5 separate regions of the Homo sapiens genome follow, and regions 1, 2, 3 and 5 are each linked to region 4. Evidence: promoter capture Hi-C in 16 types of primary human blood cells and fetal thymus (Javierre and others, 2016). All regions are on one chromosome and are shown on one strand. The core of a region is centred on a gene start or on the middle of the fragment in contact, and the rest is flanking DNA. Distances in the headings are between cores, read along the strand shown.

Evidence for each region. The method cuts DNA at HindIII sites, captures the fragments that hold promoters and counts their contacts. A CHiCAGO score of 5 or more calls a contact.
Region 1: a contact is called between a fragment that was not itself captured here and the fragment with the promoter of JMJD1C-AS1 in region 4, in 16 of 17 cell types (total CD8 T cells, total B cells, fetal thymus and 13 more). The highest score is 8.9, in total CD8 T cells.
Region 2: a fragment that was not itself captured here is called in contact with the fragment with the promoter of JMJD1C-AS1 in region 4 in 10 of 17 cell types (M2 macrophages, naive CD8 T cells, M1 macrophages and 7 more); the score reaches 7.4 in M2 macrophages.
Region 3: a contact is called between a fragment that was not itself captured here and the fragment with the promoter of JMJD1C-AS1 in region 4, in 6 of 17 cell types (M1 macrophages, M0 macrophages, endothelial precursors and 3 more). The highest score is 8.4, in M1 macrophages.
Region 5: a fragment that was not itself captured here is called in contact with the fragment with the promoter of JMJD1C-AS1 in region 4 in 1 of 17 cell types (erythroblasts); the score reaches 6.0 in erythroblasts.

What each region holds. Positions count from the first base shown.
Region 1 is chr10:63,275,768-63,280,625 of GRCh38, forward strand. All of the region lies in intron 2 of JMJD1C (jumonji domain containing 1C), which reads right to left. Among named protein-coding and RNA genes, the nearest start is that of MIR1296, 95 kb to the right of the region's middle. The HindIII fragment of the contact is 781 bases long and covers 1,534-2,314 here.
Region 2 is chr10:63,633,514-63,638,134 of GRCh38, forward strand. It overlaps the pseudogene MRPL35P2. Among named protein-coding and RNA genes, the nearest start is that of REEP3, 110 kb to the left of the region's middle. RefSeq lists a silencer at 3,556-3,655. The HindIII fragment of the contact is 9,997 bases long and covers 1-4,621 here.
Region 3 is chr10:63,319,684-63,324,222 of GRCh38, forward strand. All of the region lies in intron 2 of JMJD1C (jumonji domain containing 1C), which reads right to left. Among named protein-coding and RNA genes, the nearest start is that of MIR1296, 51 kb to the right of the region's middle. The HindIII fragment of the contact is 233 bases long and covers 2,178-2,410 here.
Region 4 is chr10:63,462,544-63,467,458 of GRCh38, forward strand. JMJD1C-AS1 (JMJD1C antisense RNA 1) reads left to right here and starts at 2,686. Exons shown (of 1, transcript NR_027182.1): 1 at 2,686-4,020. It overlaps JMJD1C (jumonji domain containing 1C), which reads right to left and starts at 3,434. Exons shown (of 26, transcript NM_032776.3): 1 at 2,952-3,434. The coding sequence starts at 3,119. RefSeq lists silencers at 2,547-2,886, 3,427-3,576 and enhancers at 2,666-3,455, 3,077-3,146, 3,227-3,396, 3,847-3,896. The HindIII fragment of the contact is 1,793 bases long and covers 1,877-3,669 here.
Region 5 is chr10:63,614,534-63,619,432 of GRCh38, forward strand. All of the region lies in intron 6 of REEP3 (receptor accessory protein 3), which reads left to right. LOC105378329 (a long non-coding RNA gene) reads right to left here. Exons shown (of 4, transcript XR_001747467.3): 2 at 44-159. Among named protein-coding and RNA genes, the nearest start is that of REEP3, 96 kb to the left of the region's middle. The HindIII fragment of the contact is 300 bases long and covers 2,796-3,095 here.

The sequences.
Region 1 (4,858 bases), core at 674-3,173, 190 kb before region 4:
TTCTTATCCTTAGTGAACCCAGCCAGTTAACTATTTAAGTGCACTTTCAGCCCTTTTTTTCCTCACAACCATATTAGTTATCAACATTCAGGATACACGCAAATTTTAAGTTGCTCATTTTATTTAATAATCTTCTCATGTTCTTACATTGCCATCATTTTAACGACTTAAAAAACAGGCATGAGTTTATTAAAGCATTAGTTTTATTATTCATTCTCTTAATGTTGAATGCTAAAGCTGCTTGCAATTTTGTATTATAAACAATACTATGAACGTCTTCATGCTTTTAGTAATTAAAAATCATAGATTAAATTATATGTTAGAATACTAAATTGGTAGGTACAAGCTCAGAGCCATTAACTGGTAGTCTTTGAAAAAAATCATGGCATTGCCAAGACATTAGAGATAGGCAGTTGAGGCCGGGCACGGTGGCTCATACCTGTAATCCCAGCACTTTGGGAGGCCGAGGCGGGCAGATCACAAGGTCAGGAGATCGAGACCATCCTGGCTAAAACGGTGAAACCCCGTCTCTACTAAAAATACAAAAAGTTAGCTGGGCGGGGTGGCGGGTGCCTGTAGTCCCAGCTACTCCGGAGGCTGAAGCAGGAGAATGGCGTGAACCTGGGAGGCGGAACTTCCAGTGAGCCGAGACCCCGCCACTGCACTCCAGCCTGGGAGACAGAGTGAGATTCCGTCTCAAAAAAAAAAAAAAAAAAAGACCAGCCTGGCCAACATGGTGAAACCCCAACTCTACTAAAAATACAAAAATCAGCTGGACATGGTGGCAGGTGCCTGTGATCCCAGCTACTCAGGAGGCTGAGGCAGGCATGGGGATTACAGGTGCCCACCACCACTACGCCCCAGCTAATCTTTGTATTTTTAGTAGGGACAGGGATTCGCCATATTGGCCAGGGTGGTCTCCTGACCTCAGGTGATCCACCCTCCTCAACCTCCCAGTGCTGGGATTACAGACTTGAGCCATGGCACCCTACCAGGAAACCAATTTTAATTACGTATGTAATTAACAGTAGTCCCACAAAATATGAGACTCACTGAAGAGTGAGATATTGAAGCTTATACAGCATCTGAAGCTATGGAAGGAATAGAAGCTTGGGGCTTTTTTTTTTTTTTTTTTGAGAGAGAGTCTCGCTCTGTCGCCCAGGCTGGAGTGCAGTGGCAAGATCTCGGCTCATGAACTCTGCCTCCCGGGTTCATGCCATTCTCCTGCCTCAGCCTCCCGAGTAGCTGGGACTACGGGCACCCACCACCACGCCCAGCTAAGTTTTTGTATTTTTAGTAGAGACAGGGTTTCACCGTGTTAGCCAGGATGGTCTCGATCTCCTGACCTCGTGATCCGCCCGCCTCGGCCTCTCAAAGTGCTGGGATTACAGGCATGAGCCACCGTGCCTGGCCAAAATAGTAATCTCTATTTTTTTATTTTTTTTAATCAATGTTGACCAGGTTGGCCTCGAATGTGTAGCCTCGCCTCCCCGAGTGCCAGGGCAACCGGCCTGAGCCACCGAGACTCCCAGAAGCTTGGGGCTTTTAAGGGTTGGTGTCTACACAAGTTATACAAAATGGAGTGAGAGGAGGAAATACATGATGAATAAAGATAGTCTTGTTATGCAGACTAAAGTCTCTCAGGTAATAACAGTTGTCTGCAGCAGCCCTTTCCCTGATACAGGTAACTTTTACTAAAGTAGATCTCCTTTATAGATGGGTAAATTTCTTTTACAAAAGGGCAGCTTTTCAAAATTACTCCTGTGTCTGCAGATTCTCAGAATAACTAGCTCAAAACATGGCAAAAAAAGATATTTTGGGGATGGTATATTCTGGTCTCTTACCAGAATATTTTGGGTGGGGTATCTTGAGCCAACAATGGATAATCAGTATAATGAAAATTTTTAAAAAACAAATTGACCAAGTAAGAGCAAAATATATTCATTGAGAGTAATTTGCATTTCTTTTTTTTTTTTTTTTTTTTTTTTGAGACAGAGTCTTGCTCTGTCTCCCAGGCTGGAGTGCAATCTTGTGATCTTGGCTCACTGAAACCTCTGCCTCTTGGTTCAAAAGATTCTCCTGCCTCAGCCTCCCGAGTAGCTGGGATTACAGGTGTGCGCCACCACGCCTGTCTAACTTTTCTATTTTTAGTAGAGATGGGGTTTCGCCATGTTGGCCAGGCTGGTCTCCAACTACCTCAGGTTATCTGCCCACCTCGACCTCCCAAAGTGCTGGGATTACAGGCATTAGCCACTGTACCCAGCCTGCATTTTAATAAAAACAAAAGTTATTAGGTTAATAAGATTTGAAACTAAGCTTTAAGGAACTTGACTTAAACAAAACTTTTATCAAGACAACCTACAATAGGTAAGTCAATGAAATACAGGCTGGATGATAATTACATATCTGCAGTGGGTTAAAGAGTACTGATTAATAGGCCAGGCACAGTGGCTCACAGCTGTAATCCCAGCACTTTGGGAAGTTGAGGTAGGCAGATCACTTGAGGTTGGGAGTTTGAGACCAGCCTTACCAACATGGTAAAACCCTGTCTCTACTAAAAATACAACAATTAAAAGAGAATAATAATAATAATAATAATAATAATAAAATTAGCCGGGTGTGGTAGCGCATGCCTGTAGTCCCAGCTACTTGGGAGGCTGAGGCAGGAATCGCTTGAACCCAGGAGGCAAAGGCTGCAGTGAGCTGAGATTACGCCACTGCACTCTGGCCTGGGCGACAGACGAGACTCCATCTCCAAAAAAATCAAAAGCAAGCAAACAAACAAACAAACAAAAAAAAGAGTACTGATTAGTAGTACTGTTGCCGAGCGTGTGATCCCAGCACCTTTAGGAGGCCGAAGTCGGGAGTTCAAGACCAGCCTGACCAACATGGAGAAATCCTGTCTCTACTAAAAATACAAAATTAGTCAGGCATGGTGACACATGCCTGTAATCCCAGCTACTTGGGAAGCTGAGGCAGGAGAATCGCTGGAACCCAGGAGGCAGAGGTTGCGGTGAGCTGATATTGTGCCATTGCACTCCAGCCTGGACAACAAGAGCAAAACTCCCATCTCAAAAAAAAAAAAAAAAAATAGTACTGTTATTAACCTGTGATATGTTATTCATTCATTTCTGGTCTTATATACTCATTATCGCTTGAAAGCTATCTCTATTTTCAAATTAACAAATGACAGAATGGCTGGCTACGCACGGTAGCTCACGCCTGTAATCCCAACACTTTGGGAGGCCGAGGCAGCTGGATCACCTGAGGTCAAGAGTTTTAGACTAGCCTGGCCAACATGGTGAAACCTCATCTCTACTAAAAATACAAAAAATTCTCCGGTGTGTTGGCGGGCGCCTGTAATCCCAGCTACTCAGGAGGCTGAGGCAGGAGAATCGCTTGAACCCACGAGGCAGAGGTTGCAGTGAGCTAAGACGGTGCCATTGCACTCCAGCCTGGGCAAAAGAGCAAAAACGTGGTCTCGAAACAAACAAAACAAATTACATAGTGATTTAAAAATATGTCTTATGATAAAAACAATCATGACCTAGATTTTAAAATGATCAAGAAAATCTGGAATTGTATCCATTGAAACAGAAAAAAAATTTTAAAAAGCTAAAATAAGGATTAACCTTAAATTTTAATAATGAAAAAATTTACCTACATTTAGGTTTAAAAACTCAAACTACTCAAGTAGAATGTACAGAAGCACTAGCTTCCTTGAAATGCATGTGAAAGAGGCCAAGGGCCAGGGGCTCACACCATAATCTCAGCACTTTGGTAGGGAGGCAAAGGTGGGAGGATTGCTTTGAGACAGTGAGACCATCTCTACAACAAAAAAAAATTTTTAAATTAGCTGGGCATGGTGGCATGTGGCTGTAGTCCCAGCTACAAAGGAGGAGCACTTGAGCCCACGAAGTTAAGACTGTAGTGAGCCATGTTTGTGCCACTGTACTACAGTCTAGATGACAAAGCAAGACCCTGCCTCTAAATTAATTAATTAATTTATGTGAAAGAATCCTGAAGGGTTTGAAGACACTAAACCAATACATATTACATATACATTTTTAAATGGGAGTGGGGGGAATCAAAACTTGAATAGGCTGGACACGGTGGCTCACGCCTGTTTTCCCAGCACTTTGGGAGGCCGAAGTGGGTGATCACCTCAGGTCAGGAGCTCAAGACCAGCCTGGCCAACATGGTGAAACCCTGTCTCTACTAAAAATACAAAAACTACCTGGAGTGTGGTGGCACACACCTGTAGTCCCAGCTACTCAGGAGGCTGAGACAGGAGAATCACTTGAACCCGGGAGGCAGAGGTTGCAGTGAGCCGAGGTCATGCCACTGCACTCAAGTCTGGGTGACAGGGCGAGACTTCATATCAATTTAAAAAAAAATTACAGAATAATAAGATCATTTGAAGGAATGCTAAATGTTTTGCCTGGGGAAGAGAAGAGGGGCAAATAATAAATATGTACGATTATTTAAAAAGTTAGTGTAGGCCACACGCGGTTGCTCACGCCTGTAATCCCAGCACTCTGGGAGACTGCGGTGGACGGATCACAAGGTCAAGAGATTGAGACCATCCTGGCCAACATGGTGAAACCCGGTCTCTACTAAAAATACAAAAAAATTAGCTGGGTGTGGTGGAACGCACCTGTAGTCCCAGTTACTCGGGAGGCTGAGGCAGGAGAATAGCTTGAACCCAGGAAGCGGAGGTTGCAGTGGGGCGAGATGGCATCACTGCACTCCAGCCTGGGCGACAAGAGTGAAACTCCATTTCAAAAAAAAAAGATTCTGAATGAAAATTTGTCAAGTCGTCACTATAAGGAATATATTTCTGCCTCTGCCTGGGGAT
Region 2 (4,621 bases), core at 2,088-4,587, 170 kb after region 4:
GTTGGCCAGGCTTGTCTCGAATTCCTGACCTTGTGATCCGCCCGCCTCAGCCTCCTAAAGTGCTGGGATTACAGGTGTGAGCCACGGTGCCCGGCCAACATATTTCAATATATATAGTGGATATATTAATATATACATTGGTATATATATTTTAAAAATAAGAGGTACCTATGTATTTATTTCTGGCTTATCTATAGTATAGATTCTGTATACACACAGATCACCCTGTGAGTCTTCCTAATACCTACAAAACAGGTAGAATTTTCTTCTTTTGTCTATGATCGTGGTCTGAAGGATGACTTTTCAGCAGCAGAAGGGACTGGAATGGAAGGTGTCCATAATTTTGGCTGGAAGAGAGAAGTGTGCCCTCTTGTGGGTCTCCTGTCATGTTCTCAGAAAGTTCCTCAGGATAGAGCTGTGGCCTTTGTGGTCAGGGCTCTAGTCCCATTTTACCTTCAGATGCCTCCTATGCAATTTTTTTCTCATCATCTTCCCTGAGAAATATTTCCCAAATAATAACACAGCTCCCTCATCTCCCTAAATTACCTCCCTCACACTCCACATCCAGTGGATCAGCCCTTCCTCTTAGGTCTAATTTTTTTTAAAACTTTTATAAGTTTAATATTGTCACTGTATGTTTACATATTCATTGGTACAATTTACATCATCTTCTCCATTTTTGCAAAGATAGCATGTACACAAAGATACATATTCAATAACTGAGAAACAAGTGAAACTTCTGATCTATACTTTCAGGTTTGTTCAATCATGATACTTCTGATAAGGATCATGGACATACCAGTTTTACCTCTCCCAGAATGACGTCGCCATTTTATCTTAAGAGTTTACTCTGGGTTTTATTGCAGAATACAAATTCCCTCAATCGCTTTTTTCTTGCAGGTTCCTTTTTCCATAATTTTTTTCTTTTAACCAGCCTTTCACCTCACCCAAAGGCCACAATGAAGTCGAAGAAACCTGTAGATGACAGCTTTCACAGTCTTTCTCTTGTCTTTTCATGTACTGAAGTATGTTAGAGATCTGACTGGCAGCTTCAGGACACTCGGAAGCAAGGGGGACACTCTATTAAGGATCGCTGAAGTATGCCCACATGTCAGGTTTCTCTCAGATGTGGTTAAGTCTGGAAGTGGAGGAAACAACTGGTGTCTAAATATGACTGAAACGTCCAGTGGACAATGCAGAAATAAGAGAGGCATTCTTGACACAGTTTCTGTATGCTGAAGATGCCAAAATATTCAAGAGCCATCGGATTCCTGAAGCTGCTCTCACTGCACCAGCAAAGGCAAAAGCAGCCATCCCTCTCAGCTCTAATTTATGGATATGGATGTATCCCAAACCCCATCCCTTCTTACTACCTCCTGCACTAGCAACTAGTCCAAACCACCATCATTTCTTGCCCAACCTGCTGCAATCACCTCTTAAGTATTTTCCCTGCTTCCACTCCTTCACCGTATATTTCATTCTCCACACAGCAGCCAAAGCGGTTTTTTTAAAAAATACAAATGAAATGTGCTCACTCTACTATTCAAAATCCTTTAGTAGTTTCTTTTCACACTTGGATAAAATCCACACTCCCTCACCACAACCTATATGACTGGACTCTTGCCTAATCTTCTCACCTCATCCTCTATCACTTTCTTCCCTGTTCATTCCTCTCCAGGAACTGGCCTTCTCACTGTTCCTCAGAAATATGAAGCGGACTACTGCTTTAGGGTCTTGCATTTGCTGTTTCCTCTGTTTTCAACCCCCAGACCGTCACATGGCTTTCTCTCTTACCTCACTCAGGTCTCTGCTCAAATGTTGCCTCAGAGAGGACTTCCCTCATCACCACCCCTAATATAAATGAAGCACCGTAGCCGTAGCCGTTCCCTAACCAATTGCCCTACTTTATTCACCTTCACATCTCTTATCAAATATCCTGTTTACCTGTTTACTTGATTATTGTTTGCTTTACCTCTAGAATGCATGTTCTATGAGTGTAGGGACTTGGTCAATCTTGTTCAACAAGGAACTTCCAGTCCAAAACTGTACCTGTCATAGAAAAGGCACCCAATAAATATGCAAATCAAACTACGGTCACTCAGTGACAGAGAAAGAATGAGAACAATTTAAATAGTGTGAGGAAGTGTGTTTACTATTTTGCTCAGTAAATGTATGCACTAGAACAAGTATGAGATGGGAGATGTGAATCTACTTTATCTCTTAGTTCCCCTGTGCTATTCACAGTATGATCAATGTGCCATGCTGGGTGTTTAAAGATGCTGACAGTTTGAACAGCATGGCCCTTACATGCAGAGAAGTTCCGTAATGAGTTTGAGTCCTGGATTCACCACGTTAGTGTCTGACCTTGGGGAAGTTACTTACGCTTTCAATGCCTCAGTTTCTTCATCCATGAAATGAGGCTAATAATAGTACTACCTCTATAGGATTGTTATAAGGATTAAATTAATAATATAAATATCTTAGAACAGTGCCTAGAACATAGTAAGCCATGTCTGAGTATTTTTAAAGCAAACCTATTTGGCTGTACTTGGTTCTCCCCTTTCTTGGGGACTTTATAACTTGAGTACTTATAAGATACTACTCTGCCCAGCACTTTGGGAGGCCGAGGTGGGTGGATCACGAGGTCAGGAGATTCAGACCATCCTGGCTAAAATGATGAAACCCCGTCTCTACTAAAACTACAAAAAAATTAGCCAGGTGTGGTGGCGGGCGCCTGTAGTCCCAGCTACTCGGGAGGCTGAGGCAGGAGAATGGCGTGAACCCAGGAGGCGGAGCTTGCAGTGAGCCAAGATCGCGCCACTGCACTCCAGCCTGGGCGATAGAGCGTGACTCCATCTAAAAAAAAAAAAGATGCTACTCTGAAGTGACTGGCATTGGAATTTTCATCATGCTTTTAGACCAGTAATTTTAGTTTTAGCACCAAGTACAATAATTATTTTATAACCATTGCTAGTCTAGCATTTTTGCTTAGCCATAAATTCCATTTAAGCCAAAATATCCCTAACTTTGCAAAAAACTGTACCTTCAGGGGACACCACCCAATTATAGTTGAAAAAAAGATGTTTCTTCCTTTTTAATTCTGTAGGCTTTTCTTGGCTGGCATTTCCATAACATAATATTGTTATTTGGTAGTTGAGTGTCAGTCAGCTCTACAGAAAAATAAATACCAGTGATCTTGCTAAACCTGTGTACCAAATCATTCCTGAACTAGGGGAGTGGGCCAGATAACCTTTGGAAGGCTTTTTAGCTCTGTTTTTCTGTGGTTTTCGTAAAATGAAAATAGCTCAGAAATTAGAGGTTCTAGATTTAGCACTATGTGAACTGGGCCGGGATGCTTTGTGAATCATGGACAATTGAAATAGTTTAAACTCAGCTTATTTGGAACAGATTAGGTCCATATTCGGGTTGAACAAGAATGAAACCTGTTTGAACTGTGGACAGGCTGTCAGCACCCTTCTAGGCTCAGCTTTTCACTTCTCTTTCTAGGGCCTTGACTCGTTCATATATAACTGTATGAATGCCTCTTTAGAAAGGACTGCAAACACCTCCAACTAGTGTTTGTGAAACCTCCTTGAGGTATTCTACATATGATTCAATAATAAACACCTTCTGCAGTCTTTACCTTAGTTATGGTCCCATAAGTCATGCATTTATTCATCCAGTAAATATTCCCTGAGGGCTTAATATGTGCTAGGAATTGTGCTAGTACTAGCCACTTAGTTGTCCAAGTTAGAAACTAGGAGTTGGGCCAGGCACAGTAGCTCACGCCTGTAATCCCAGCACTTTGGGAGGCCGAGGTGGGAGGATCACCTGAGGTCAGGAGTTCGAGACCAGCCTGGCCAACATGGTGAAACCCCGTCTCTAGTAAAATTACAAAAATTAGCTGGGTGTGGTGGTACATACCTGTAATCCTAGCTACTCGGGAGGCTGAGGCAGGAGAATCGCTTAAACCTGGGAGGCAGAGGCTGCAGTGAGCCAAGATCGTGCCACTGTACTCCAGCCTGGGCAACAGAGTGACTCCGTCTCAAAAAAAAGAAAAGAAAAAAGAAAAGAAAGAAAAAGAAACCTAGGCGTCGTCTTAAATATACCCCCCTCATTCACTCCCCACATTAGGTCAGCCACCAAACTGGTGCCAATACTACCTTCCAAATATCTCTTGAAGTTTTGTTCTCCTCTTCACTCGCTCCTGGTGCCACTATGTTGGTAAAAGTGGTGTAAGCCCAGCTACTGTAGAAAGCAGGGCACAAAGCAGTCTGCTAAGGAGGGGGAAGAGGAGGGGAAGATGGGACACAGTGAGATGCACTGTTATACTGTTTACTGTTGTGCAGTCATACAACAGGTCACTCAGCAGGCATGGGACGTCCCTGGAAGGGTTAACAAGGAAGAACTCCATCTTGGACTATTCCACATGAGAAAAAAGAGTGAGTGTGTCTTCCTGTCTCTCTCCTGGATCCATTTGCCATTGGTGAAGGTTTACCCCATGGAGAGATAAACACCCCTGAATTGGATTGTGTCATCTGGCCGCTTGGCGGCTCTCAGGAAGGCAGATCCCAAGCTCAAGGTGTGGTACTTGTTCCAACTTCAAAAGTAAAGCAACAGG
Region 3 (4,539 bases), core at 1,044-3,543, 140 kb before region 4:
CCCCGTGAAATATTCTCTTTAATCTTCCAATTAACAATTTTGTTCTTCAAATAGATCAATTCTGTTATTCATCTTTTTGTTTGTTTGCTTGTTTTCTCCACGACAGAGTCTCGCTCTGTTGCCCAGGCTGGAATGCAGTGGTGCTATCTTGGCTCACTGCAACCTCCACCTCCAGGTTCAAGCAATTCTCCTGCCTCAGCCTCCTGGGTAGCTGGGATTACAGGCACATGCCACCACACCCAGCTAATTTTTTTGTAGTTTTAGTAGAGACAGGGTTTCACCATGTTGGCCAGGCTGGTTTCAAACTCCTGACCTCAGGTGATCCACCCGCCTCAGCCTCCCAAAGCGCTTGGATTACAGGCATTAGCCACCATGCCTGACTCAACTAATTGTTATATTTTTAGTAGAGATGGTGTTTCACCATGTTGGCCAGGCTGGTCTTGAACTCCTGGCTTCAAGTGATTCGCCTACCTCAGCTTTCCAAAGTGCTGGGATTACAGGAGTGAACCACCATGCCCAGCATATCTTACATTTTGTATTATGTTTTTGATATTGAGTAATTTTTTCTTTTAGATTTTATTTCATATTATCTTCCTCTAATATTTTTAATACATTTATTAGGATAATTTTATATTCATCATTTGTCTAATCTAGTATTTCTACTACTAATGGCATCTGTAATCCAGTATATTATTTTTCTTTCCTTTGAATGTTTTATTTGGTCTGTGTGCTCATTTTCTTCTAGGAAAATACATTTAAGCAATGTATATAGACGATGTCAGCCCACAATCACTGTCAGCCCCATTGAGCTCAAGACATACAGGTGGAAAATACCTAAGGTGGAATATTCCAGGCAGCAGAAAACTACAATCTCTCATCTTTTCTCAAAACAATTCCTTGGGAAAGTAGCTTCACTATTTTTTCACATGTTAAAGCATCTAAATGGAGACTCTTCTTCGACTATTGTGATAACATGAAATATATATTTGTTTTTTGTCTCCATTTCCTGACATACAGCTTCTAAAATCCTTGTAGATACAGGCACTAGGAGAATCTTTTGTTCTAATATTTGTCCTTTGACTCCTGGTTCCTGACACCGAGCTCCTAAATCCCTAGGAATTTCCTAGGTGACAGAAGACTCTTTTGTTCTAATGAGGCAATCTTGGTGGGCTTCTAGATAGCCCCAGGATGGTGCTTGTTACCAAGGGAACCAACCATGTGTTTAGAGAGTTGGAAAGTTCATAGCCCCACCCCAGACCTCCAGGGAGAGGAGAGGGGCTGAATTGAGTTGATCAACAATGGCCAATTATATAATCAATGATGCCTATGTAATGAAGTCTCCATAAAACCCCCTAAAAATAGAGTTTGAATGAGGTTCCAGACTGGTGTACAAGAACACATCCACGTGCCAGGTGGGTGGCACACACAAACTCCACAGGGATGAAAGTTCCTGTTCTCTGGACCCTTCCAGATCCCATCCCATGTATCTTCATCTGGCTATTCATTTGTATCCTTTAAAATATTCTTTGTAATAAATCGGTAAACATAATAAGTAAAGTGTTTCTCTGACCTTTGTGAATTGCTCTAGCAAACTAATTGAACATGAGAAGGAGCTGGTCTATAGCTGATCAGTGAATTTTATAGCTGCTCAGTCAGAAGTATAGGTGACAACCTACTACTTGCGATTGTCATCTGAAGTGGGAGGCAGTCTTGTGAGATTGAGTCCTCAATCAGTGGGATCTGACGCTAGCTGTAGGTAGACAGCGTGAAAAAATAATTCAGTTGGAGGATATCCAGCTCATGTCTGCTGGAGATCTGCTAGGTGTGTAAGAAAATACCCCAACACATCTGGTGTCAGAAGTGTTGTGTTGAGTCGACAGTGGAAAAAACAATTTGGTTTGGTTTTTCCTGCATCTCTTACCAACTATAGCGTATTAGCACTGAGAACTGTCTGGGTAAGAGGTAGGGAAGCAAAAGTTCATTTTTTAAATCCACTCAGAAGGAAAGGGCCTCTGCACTATCCTGAATTGACTCCTCAAAATATCAAAGGTCTGATACTTTACAAGTGTACGCGAGTTAGGCACCTTTGCTTCAAAGGCGTGAAGAGCTTCAATAGTTCCTTTCCTATTTTTTCTTCTGATAGCCAAGAGGATGCCCTCTCTCTTGACCTGGGACAAAGCTTCTCTATTCCACACACCAGTTCAAAACAGCCTTTCTTCCACCAACCTAGGGGATTTCTCACCATTTGCTCAGAACATTTAGTTTTCCCTTCTAACTGCTGAAGCTGACCTTGGGTGAGGAAGCCAAAAGTCACACTTCTTGAATGTCTTTTAAGGAATCTAAACCAGTTCATTCATTGTAATGATGAAATATCTTCTCATCTGAGTATATTAAGAGGATTTTCCCCCAAAGCTTTCAAAACAGTTCCTTGTATTTTCCTGGCTATTCTTTTTTTCCTACATGTTTATTCTCTCTCATGTTGGGAAAGCTCTTTTCAAATGTTGCACATGCCTTGGTTATCAATTTACATAAAAGAGAAAAGAATATTATTAAAATGAGTGGATGTCAGTTTACTGAGGATCTCACCTAAGGACTCTAAATTTTCAGAATTTTTTTCCTCTGGAAAATTCAGATTTCTACAAAGACAAAATCCCCCTCTAAACTCTTAGTTAAAAGGTATATGCCAACCTGCAGTATATTATGAGCGCAAGAGATGGAAAGTGACTTAGGTGGAAGGGACTCAGTACGATGATTTTAAAGCTGCTAAATTGTAAAATACAAAATGCAAGAAATTAAGATAGAATAGGGTTTAACTTTTTACACTTATTTGAATTGTTAAAAAATTTTCTGGCCAGGCACGGTGGCTCACACCTGTACTCCCAGCACTTTGGGAGGCCGAAGAGGGAGAATCACAAGGTCTGGAGTTCAAGACCAGCCTGACCAACATGGTGAAACCCCGTCTCTACTAAAAATACAAAAATTAGTGGCGCGCTCCTGTAGTCCCAGCTACTAGGGAGGCTGAGGCAGGAGAACTGCTTGAACCTGGAAGGCAGAGGTTGCAGTGAGCCAAGATCGCACCACTGGACTCCAGCCTGGGCAACAGAGTGAGATTCCATCTCAAAAAAAAAAAAAAAAAAAAACTTTTTTTTTTTTCCTAAGTTTGTCAAGGCACAGTTGAGGAAAGAACAGAATCTATATCAAATGTTAATATTAATGTAATTAATATATATTGATGTATATTAACAATTGTTTACGTATCTAGTCATAAATACAGAGGCAGAGCTGGGAAAAGTATTTAATATATATAAAAATTTAACATATACATACATAGATCTATATATGAAAATTAGATAATGTTGAACAAAAAGTAGAGAAGAGAGAAAAGGAAAGAACTGCCGCCTTGGGCAAGACCAAAGCAGCACTGGGTAAGAGTATGCGAGACAGTAAAGTCAACAAAGCTGTAATGACAGCTATGATGGACAGGTAGTGCTAAAGCTGAAACACAAGGAAAAGCCTGTTGGCCACAACAAATTAATTAAGCCTAGAAACAACAGTGGTGCCGGGTACAGTGGCTCACACTTGTAATCCTAACACTTCTGGGAGGCCAAGGCAGACAGATCACTTGAGGTCAGGAGTTTGAGTCCATCCTGGCCAACATGGTGAAATCCCACCTCTACTAAAAATACAAAAACTAGGCTTGGTGGCACGCACCTGGAATCCCAGCAACTCGGGAGGGTGAGGCAGAAGAATCACTTGAACCCAGGAGGCTGAGGTTGCAGTGAGCCAAGATCGCGCCACTGTACTCCACCCTGGGTGACAGAGCAAGACTGTTTCAAAAAAAGAAAGGGGGGAAAGAAACAGCACTGGTATTTTCTGAAGCACAAGTTATAAAACAATGTTATCCATTCAAAAACCAGAAGTCATACTGATAAGAGCACAATAAGGCCAGGTACATAAAACTAAAAAAATTCAAGGCATACTTAGATGTGATATAAAATGAGATGGCTAGTACAATGGCCTGCGGGGGCCATCTTGTGCATTCTCTCAATCTTCAAATGTCTTTGTATTAGAGTTCTCCACAAAAACAGGACCAATAGAGTGTGAGCATATTTGTGTGTGTTTCTCTGTGTGTTTGCATATGTGTGTGTGTATACATATATATATATAGGCTCATTATCTCATATGATTATGAAAGCCAAAATCCCATGATCTGCAGCCCACAAGCTGGAGAAACAGGAAAGCCAGTGGTGTGTCTTGGTTCAAGTCTGAAAAATGAAGAACCAGGAGCACCCACATCTGAAAGCAGGAGACAAGGATGTTCCAGCTCAGAAAGAGCCAATTCATCCTTCGTCTGCCTTTTTTTTTTTTTTTTTCTATGTGGGCCCCCAAAGGATGGACAATATCTGCCCAAATGGATAAGGGTGGTCCTTCCCTACTCAGTCTACTAGCTCAAATGCTAATCTCTTCGGAAACACCCTCACAGACACAGTCAGAAATAATATCTTACCAGGATCTGGGTATCCTGTGGCCCAGTCATGC
Region 4 (4,915 bases), core at 1,436-3,935:
GGCAAGATTATCCTGGATTATGTCAATTGGCCCAAAGTAATCAACAGGGCACTTACAAGTGTAATGGGGAAGCAGGAGAGTTAGAAGGAGATGACTAGGGAAAAACGGTCAGAGAGATACAACTTGGTTGGCTTTTAAGATGGAGGAAGGGGGCCATGAGCCAAGGAATGTGGACAGCTTCTAAAAACTAGAAAAGGAAAGAAAATGGATCTCTCCTAGAATAAACAGTCTTGCCACACTTTGATTTTAGCCCAGCAAGATCCAGGTCTTATTTGTGATCTCCAGAACTACAAAATAATAAGCGTATAACATTTAAACCACCAAGATTACGTTAATTAAACAATTATAGAAATTTAATTCACGTGGCAATTCCTCATACATAAGACCCAAAATAAGAATAACTGATTATCTTTGAGACACAATATTCCCTCAACTACTTTGAAGTTCTTATCATTATCCTTCCAAATCATGTGCCACAGGTTTGTGGCACATGTCCTGCCTGGTGTATCCAGCCAGGACTTCTAGTAGACTTAACAGGTTTTTAATTATACATATTTGTAGCTTTAAAAAAAAAATCACAAACTAGCCTATTCAACATTTTCCATATACTTTCTTTTTACATATTTATTTATTTATTTAGAGACAGGATCTCACTCTGTCGCCCAGGCTAGAGTGCAGTGGCATAATCTTGGCTCACTGCAGTCTCAACCTCACTGAGCTCAGGTGATCCTCCCACCTCAGCCGCCCCAGTAGATGGAACCACAGGCATTGTACTACTATGCCCGGCTAATTTCTGTATTTTTTGTAGGGACAGGGTTTCGCCATGTTGCCCAGGCTAGTCTCAAAACTCCTGCGCTCAAGTATCTTCCCATCTCAGTCTCCCAAAGTGTTGGGTTTACAGGCGTGAGCCACTGTGCCTAGCCTAATTTCATGTAACTTAAAATCTACTCTGCAGTAATCAAAGTCGAACAGGAATATTACATTATGTTAATGCTAAACTGTTCCAAGTTTCGTTTAAGAAATGTGAATGTAAGAAAATCTGGGAATAAATCTAAAATGGTAGATTCTAGGCTAAAAAAACTAAATTAATATTCAAATTTTCAAATAAAGACAGATTAAAAAAACTCATCAAGGGTTCACATAGGTATGGTTCAACATACATTTTTCTTTTTTTGGTAAAATTTAGATATGGTGAAACGCAAAGATAGTATCAATTCAACGAGTTTTGACAAATATATATATCTGTGTAACCAACAATCAGGATAGGAAACATTTCTATCACCTGAAGAAACTCCTATTCTTTCCAGTCAATCTCTACCATCCATAGATAATTTATTTTTTAATATCCAGCTTAATACCTTACTAACATATGCAAACTTAACTCTTTAATCACTTAAATTCCCAACTAAGAGAGCAATTAAGTTATTTATATATACAAATTTTTTTTTTCCTTTTTTACAGATGAGGGGGTCTCACCTATGTTGCCCAGGCTGGACTCTTAATAAGTCCTGGGCTCTAGCAATCCTCTTACCTCAGCCTTTTACACAAACAAAAATAGTTACTGAATTGAACTGCCATAATTTTTAGAACCACTAACATCACCAATACTTTTTAAGGAAGATTATACATTTCTATACGAAAATAACCAGCCAAAACCTTCAAAACTACCTCTATTTTCTGTTAGAAATACCTATCAGCAAAACACACCTATTTTGCGATATCGAGTCAATATTAATACATGCCGCATTAACCATATCATTGACTACAGTGAGGAAAACCCGAGTTTACAAAAACACACTCAGAAACTATTAAAATAGGTAGGTAAAAAATATTAGGTAGATACCTGTACAAATATTACAATGAATTTGGAATTGTAAGCTTTCATGCACACAAAGGGAAAAAAATTTCCTAAATTTGAAGTTTTCATTGAAAAAGTAAATGGCTCAGGGCATTACAAATAAATTTCACAGATTACGTATTCATAAATCAACCTTTGGAAGTCTAGTCCATGTCTTGTCTCTACTCCGCCCCTTACCTTCAAGCTGTCCCTCAGTGAGAATGTACTTGGAACACAACAGAGCATATTACAGCTCAATATCATGCACATACCTACGCTACTCAAAGAAAGCACTGGCAGCGTCACATGTAAGAAACCAAAAAAAAAAAAAGATAATCAATTCTGCATGGCATTTAACATTTTAATTGACAACATTTTTCGTCTTATTTAAAATCGTATAAAACCCAGAAACAGCTTGACTCCAAAGAACTATACCTTTCTAACAAGAAAAGCACATTGGGGACAGAAAGAGAGATTACCCTCCATACCAAAATTTTTCACTTTTATCCTTTACGGTTAGAAAGCCAAGCATCTATTAAGGAGAGGATGAATCCGGGCACAGCCACCACCACGGCCTCTGCCTCTAAAACACATAGGAATCCCCGGACTGTGTGGGAAGGTCTCTTTTCTTTTCTCCCTCCCCTTCAGCAACCTTACAGGATAAGTTTTAAGTCTCGAGCTACAGCACTATGAAGACTTTTCCAAGAAAAGAGATACCAGGGAAGCTGGCCGCCTGTCGCCATGAGTGGTCCGCCCCCTACCCCCACCTGCCCGCGCGGCGCCGGACTCGCGGCTCCGCCTTTCGGGGAGGTCTCCGTGGCCGCCCAGGCGCCACAGCGGGGAGCCGCGGTCGACCCCTCCGGGATGGGGGCCAGGGCAGCCTCCGCGGCTATCCCGGGAGTCCTGCTCCGACACCACCTCCACAGGGGAAGCCGCTCGGAGAGACGCAGGGACCCAGGCAAGGGATGCGGGCAAACGCGCCAAGGGTTCAGCAGAGGGGCGTGACCGCCAGTTGGCCGGGCTGAGCGAGGCGCCAGAGGGAAGCCTGCAAGGTACGTCTGCGAGAGCCGGGTGCGGGCGCGGCAGGGGAAAAGGGGGGCGCTGACTCTCTTACCGCCAGGTCCGGATTGCGGCTGTCCCTGTGTGACACGGCTCGGATGACCCCCGCTCGCCAGCTTCGCCAGCCGCGTCCGCTCTCCCAGCGCTCCGAACGTGCCTCGTCGCCGACCGCCACACACAGGAACCGCTTACCCACCAGCTCTGCCCGCGTCTCTACCGCCATAGCTGTCGCTGCCGAAGCGGCCGCTGCCTCCTCCAGTGCGAGGGAACCGATGAAACCTCACTCCTACCGGCCGCTCATGCTGAGGAGAGCGGACCGGGACACAGCAGCGGACCCGAAAGAGCGCAGACTCGGGACGAACCGGCCGCTCTGCCCCGGACACAGCGACCTCGGGCCCTCCCCGCAAACACTCCTTTGGACTCCCAGATTCGCAGCCTTGTGCTGCAGCGCCACACAAGAAAACTGAAACAAAACCCAACGCGGCCGTCGAAGACCCCGAGGCAGCCCAGCCGCCGCCACCGCGCCGCGGCCAGTACTGCTCCGTCTCCCTCCCCGGGCAGCGGCGGCGCGCAGCGCGTCTCCTTCCGCCGGCGCGGGCGGGGCAGCAGCCGCGGGAGGGTCGGCGGAACCACCGCAGACGGAAAGTAGTGCCCGGCCCTGCGGAGGCGGCAGCGGCCACTGGGTCCGTCCAGATCCAGAGGCGGCGGCGGCGGCGGCAGCGGGAGACGAAAAAATGAAGAGGGCCGCGGGAAAGTAGGCGACAGCTATTCAAAGCTTTTGGGGGTCTACCTTTGTATTCGTTGCTCCCTCAGAGGTGGAGGTGAGGGGAAAGTGAAGTGTAGTGGTTCCACTCTGATCACAAAATAAACTCCTGGGTTGACGCCTCACCCGCGGTTTGATGTTCAGAGCACACAGCGCCCGCCGCCTGAGTTAGCCTGAATTAGCAGTCCCGCAGTAACAGCAGCAGAGCAGGACAACACTTCTACTGAAAACTAAGCCCCAAAGTCACAGCAGAACCAACCGTTCATGACTTCAAGGGAAAACGAGGGGGAAAATGTGATCCTTTCATTCTTCTCATTTGTGGTGATACTAATTACATGTTTAAGCTATTCACAGATTTAAATTCGTCACTGCTTTATTATAAGAACAGCAAATGCTCCGTGGCGGGCCCTTGTCAACGTCCTGAAATTTCACAAACCGTGTCTGCGACAGTCTTAGTACTTTTAGTACTGGTACACAGCTCAAACACACTGGTCAGATAATAAAAGCAGAGAAAATCCCCAGATTCAGTTATTAGAAAATACCATGGAAAGAAAAGGATTTTAGCCAATCACAATTCAAGAAAAAAAATATTTATTTCCCATCCAATTACAATCGGACTCCCTAACCCACACAAAGATCTCTAACTTGGAACAATCACTCTTCTTTGATCAACTTATTTGTTATAAATCAAACCTCCCTACAAATGTCAGTGAGCAGTTCGATTTCAGGCACCCTTTATACTGCTTTTTTATAGGTAGTCCAATATTCTAAATTTCAGTTTCTTGAGATTTTCCTGAACCTCTATTTAAAAAAAAAAAGTTAACAGAGTTTACAGTAGTAATCTGAATGTTTAAAATAACTATAAGGCTTTTATCTGTTTTCTCTAGAACACTCAAGCTGGGCAATTTGAAGTGGAGAAACACAACCACTGCTAATAGGTTAGAAACCAAAATTATAAGGAAGATGGATTTTAATAATCATGGTCAAATTTTGCCAAAGACCAAACATAGAACTGTAATAAATAGGCTGGGCACGGTGCCTCACGCCTGTAATCCCTGCACTTTAGGAGGCAGATCACCTGAGGTCGGGAGTTCGAGACCAGCCTGGCCAACATGATGAAACTAAATGTATTTTTAGTCTCTACTAAAAATACAAAAAATTAGCTGGGCATGGTGGAGCATGCCTGTAATCCCAGCTACTCAGGAGGCAGCAGGAGAATCACTTGAACCTGGGAGCTGGAGGTTGCAGTGAGCCGG
Region 5 (4,899 bases), core at 1,696-4,195, 150 kb after region 4:
ATGTTCTCTCCATGTGGTCTCTAAGGGTGGTTGGACTTCTTACCTGGCAGCTGAAGGCTCCCAGGCCAGTGTGCCGAGAGAAACTTGCAGAAGTCCTAGAAGCAGCATCACTTCCATCACATATTTTGTGGCGATTTGTTGAGGCAAGTACAAAGGCCTCTGAGATGTTAAGGGAAGGGAAGAGGAGTGTCAGAGAATCTGTAGACATGTTTTAAAACCACACAGCAAGCCTGTTGAGAAATACTCTTAGGCACTTTTTATGAGTTTAAAATGGAATAATCCTTTTGGATGACAATCTGGCAGTAATCATCATAATTTATTCCCTTTAGCTCAGCAAGAAACTTTTAAGAATATGTCATAAGGAAATAATCAGACAAGTGTTCAAAGATGTATTTACAAGAATGTTCATCTCGTTGTTTATAATAACAAATATTGGAATGAACCAAATGCCTAGGAGAAATGATTAAGCAAAAGGTGGTTTATTAGCTGTGAAACATAACAATGTCAGTCTATACTTAATGATATGAAAACATATCCAGATTGTAGGGAAAAAAAATAATAAGTAGATGATGAAATGGATTAATATACCTAATTTTTTAAATGTATATACATAAGAGAAAGTTTGGAAGGGTATTACTAAAATGGTAACAGTGTTTAGCCCTGAGTAGTGAGCTTTTTCGTTTGTTGTTGTTGTTTAAATTAACCTATTAATCTTAAAATCAGAAGTAAATCAGCCATACTCTTCATTTTGAAAAAATAAGGTATTCATTTTCGGGTTTTAAGTTAAACAGAAAATGTTTTTTTTGTTTTTGTTTTTGTTTTTGTTTTTTAATATATTAATGGAGATGGGATATCAGTATGTTGCCCACCTCTGCTTCCCAAAGTGCTAAGATTACAGGCATGAGTCACCAAGCCCAGCCAGAAAATGTATATTTTAATGAAAATATTTGACTTGATTCTAGTGTCTCTTCTCTCTTTGATTCAAGGATTGGTTTAATAAATTGCTAAATTAAACTTTTTTTTTTTTTTTGAGGTGGAGTCTCACTCTGTCGCCCAGGCTGGAGTGCAGTGGCGCGATCTCAGCTCACTGCAGCCTCCACCTCCCAGGTTCAAGCAATTCTCTGCCTCAGCCTCCCGAGTAGCTGGGATTACAGGCACGTGCCACCACACCCAGCTAAGTTTTGTATTTTTAAGTAGAGATGGGGTTTTGCCATATTGGCCAGGCTGGTCTCAAACTACTGGCCTCATGTCATTCACCCACTCAGCCTCCCAAAGTGCTGGGATTACAGGCATGAGCCACCACACCCAGCCTAAACTTGTGGATTTCATTTCCCAATAAATTCTAAATTTGGCTCCTTGCTCTGTCCTCACTCTCTGTGGACTCTGTCATTTCTGACCTGCTATACTACAGTAACCTCCCCACTTACGCTCCCTTCCCTCAGCCTTATCCATTTCTGATTCATTTTCCAAAGCGCAAGAAGAATATTTTACAAAACCCAACTCTAATCATGTTACTCTTCTGCTTAAAACATTTCAATACTCTCCCCGAGCCTCCAGAGGCTTCATTGCTCTCTGACGAAGTCCAAACTAGATAGCATGGTGTATTAACTCCCCAGCCTTGTTCTCCCACTCCATCAAGTGCTAGCCATACAGAATCATGACTCTTTGAGGATTTAGCTTAGCCACCACCTCCTACAAGGCCTTCTCTCATAACCCACCCTTTCCAACCCACCCCATGCTGATTACATTCTCTTACTGTATGCCCTCTGGCACCTTGTCATTAGCTTATAGTATTTATTACAGTATCATAATGCCCATTACCGTCTGTTTCCCCTATTGGACTCTAAATTTTTTGAGGGTAGAAAAAGACAGCTGTGTCTTTTTCATCCTTGTATCCTCATAATTCAGCACACTGCCTCATTCATAATAGAATTTTAAAAATACTTGTGGAGTAATGAATCAATCCATCACTTTTCCTGAAGCTATAATTAGATAGCTAATAAGATTTTTTTTAGCTGGAATTAGGAAAAAAGAAAAGAATAAGATGTATAATCAGCTTTTGAATGAAATTCCAATTCCTAATCATACAAAATGAGAGGCAGTTAAAATAGCAAGGACTGGGTTTGTTGAACTGTGCTCTTATGCTACATTTGTGGCCTTAGAGAAATTGTTTATCACAGTTACTTCCTTTCTGACTTTTTCCTTGATTCCTCATTCTGTTTTACCATATTAGGATCAGGAATACTATATAAGCAAACATCAATAGGAAAAAAAATCTAGAAATGACAACCTAAACCTGAAGCCTGGTTTATTTTTCTCAATTATAAAATAAACATTTTTTAAAAATAAGAATTTGGCAAGTAAAAAAAGAAAAAATGAAAAAATTTAAAATCACCTGAAAGCTCACTTCCATGAGATATAATCCTTTCATTTATGTTTTTCCTTTGTTTGTTTCTATATGTACATTTTTTTTTTCCACACTTAATATTGCTTCAGGAGCTTTTTTCCAGGACCACTGATCCATCCCCTTCCTTGCCACACTGGCCTCCTTGCAGTTCTTCCAAGCAATCCCCAAGCCCTAGCTACTCTCCTCACTGCCTCTGTGCATGCTGTTTCTTCCACCCGGAACACACACACTTCCTTGGACCACTGCAAGAAAACAAAGGATCTTGGCCTAAATAAGGACTGATTCCACTTCCAAATCTCCTCTGACTTCTAGCCTAGAAGTCTAAGAACATAAAATTATACCTGACTAATATACAATGCAAGTTGCTTATGTTATTATGAGAGTAACAAGCTTATTAACAACTCTTTGTAGTTTGCTTAGTGTTTCTCAAATTATTCGTGTCTTAGAAGAGCAGACCAATAAACATGTATTCAATTTTTTTAATATGTATATTTTTTGAAACAGGCTATAATGCAGTGGCATGATCACAGCTCACTGCAGCCTTGACTTCCCAGGCTCAGGTGATCCTCCTACCTCAGCCTTTGGAGGAGCTGGGACTACAGGTGCACAACACCATACCCGGCTAATTTTTGTATTTTTTGTAGAGAAAAGGTTTTACCATGTTGCCCAGGCTGATCTCAAACTCCTAAGCTTAAGCGAACCACCTGCCTTGACCTCCCAAAGTGCTGGCATTACAGGCATGAGCCACCAAAGCCCACCCCAGTTTTATTTTTTATCAGCATGAGCCACCAAAGCCCACCCCAGTTTTATTTTTTATCACATGCACGGAATCTATCCCGTGCCTTCTCCTAAGCCTGGAAATCCTTCTACTCTTTTTTTTTTTTTTTTTTTTTTTTTTTAAAGAGATGGAGTCTTGCTCTGTCACCCAAGCTGGAGTGCAGTGGTGCAATCTCAGCTCACTGCAACCTCCACCTCCTGGGTTCAAGCGATTCTCCTGCCTCAGCCTCCCAAGTAGCTGGGATTACAGACTCCTGCCACCACGCCCAGCTAATTTCTGTGTTTTTAGTAGAGTCGGGTGTTTCACCATGTTGGCCAGGCTGGTCTCGAACTCCTGACCTCAGGTGATCCGCCCACCTTGGCCTCCCGAAGTGCTGGGATTACAGGTGTGAGCCACTGCGCCTGGCTGTAAGTCCTTCCACTTTCTCCTCACCTGACAATTTAAGTATTTATGCTCCTTATGCTCCTTATTTTTATTAAAGGAGAATTTATAACTTCATGGGGATTTCTTTCCTTCTTCTTTTTTTTTTTTTTTTTTTTTTTTTTGAGATGGAGTCTCGCTCTGTCACCCAGGCTGGAGTGCAGTGGCGCGATCTCAGCTCACTGCAAGCTCCGCCTCCCGGATTCATGCCATTCTCCTGCCCCAGCTTCCCGAGTAGCTGGGACTACAGGCGCCTGCCTCCATGCTTGGCTAATTTTTTTTGTATTTTCAGTAGAGACAGGGTTTCACCATGTTAGCCAGGATGGTCTTGATCTCCTGACCTCATGATCCACCCGCCTGGGCCTCCCAAAGTGCTGGGATTACAGGCGTGAGCCACCATGCCCGGCCTCTTCATGGGGATTTCTAATCTCACCCCTTTCTTTATAACCTACTTAGTACTCTGGTTGTCTGAGACTTGGGCCCCTGTCTTGCTGTCTCCAGCATCCTCAGGCAGTGGTTCTCAAAGTGTGGACCACAGACCATGAGCACAAGCATTACCTGGGAACTTGTCAGAAATGCAGATTCTCAGCCCCACCTCAAATCTGCTGAATCAGAAATTCTGGGGTTGTCAGAACTTGTATTAACAGGTTCTCAAGGTAACTCTGACGTGCTCAAGTTTGAGAACCTCAGCTTCAGGGTTGGAAGAGTTTTCGTCCTTGAGGCCAAGCCTCAAGATGCTCTCAGACTTCCTGACTGTGTGGATGTTTGCATATTGGCCCGTAGTAAGTCTTTATAGCTACACATAACAGCCTTCTAGCATACTCGCGTGATCTCTCACTGATCTGCCTGATTCTATTTTCTTTGACTAGTATCTGTCACACAGTCTGTGGTACTTCTAATTACTGCAGCCTACCTGGCTGGGTTTTATCTCAGCAACTGCAATAGCAGCTAACATCCCCATCCTCATCACCTGCCCCCAGTGACCTTATTTTGCCCAAAGTTCTAGCCCCCTGGGGTCTTCCTCAATGCCTTAAGTAAACCCTACCATTCCCAGTCTTGACAAAAGATACGACACATAGAACGGAAAAGCCTTAATTCCTAATTCAAGGCAAAAGTGCAAATGACAGACTAAAACACAAATGCTTGGGTTGAATTCATGAAGAGGAGGAAAGGTGGGAAGAGACTTTTTGCTCTATATCTATTTATATTCTTGAATTTTTTAACAAGATGGTGTGTTACCTACTCAAAAATAAATTATTTTATAATTATTTTTAAAAATGCATAGTAAAAATAA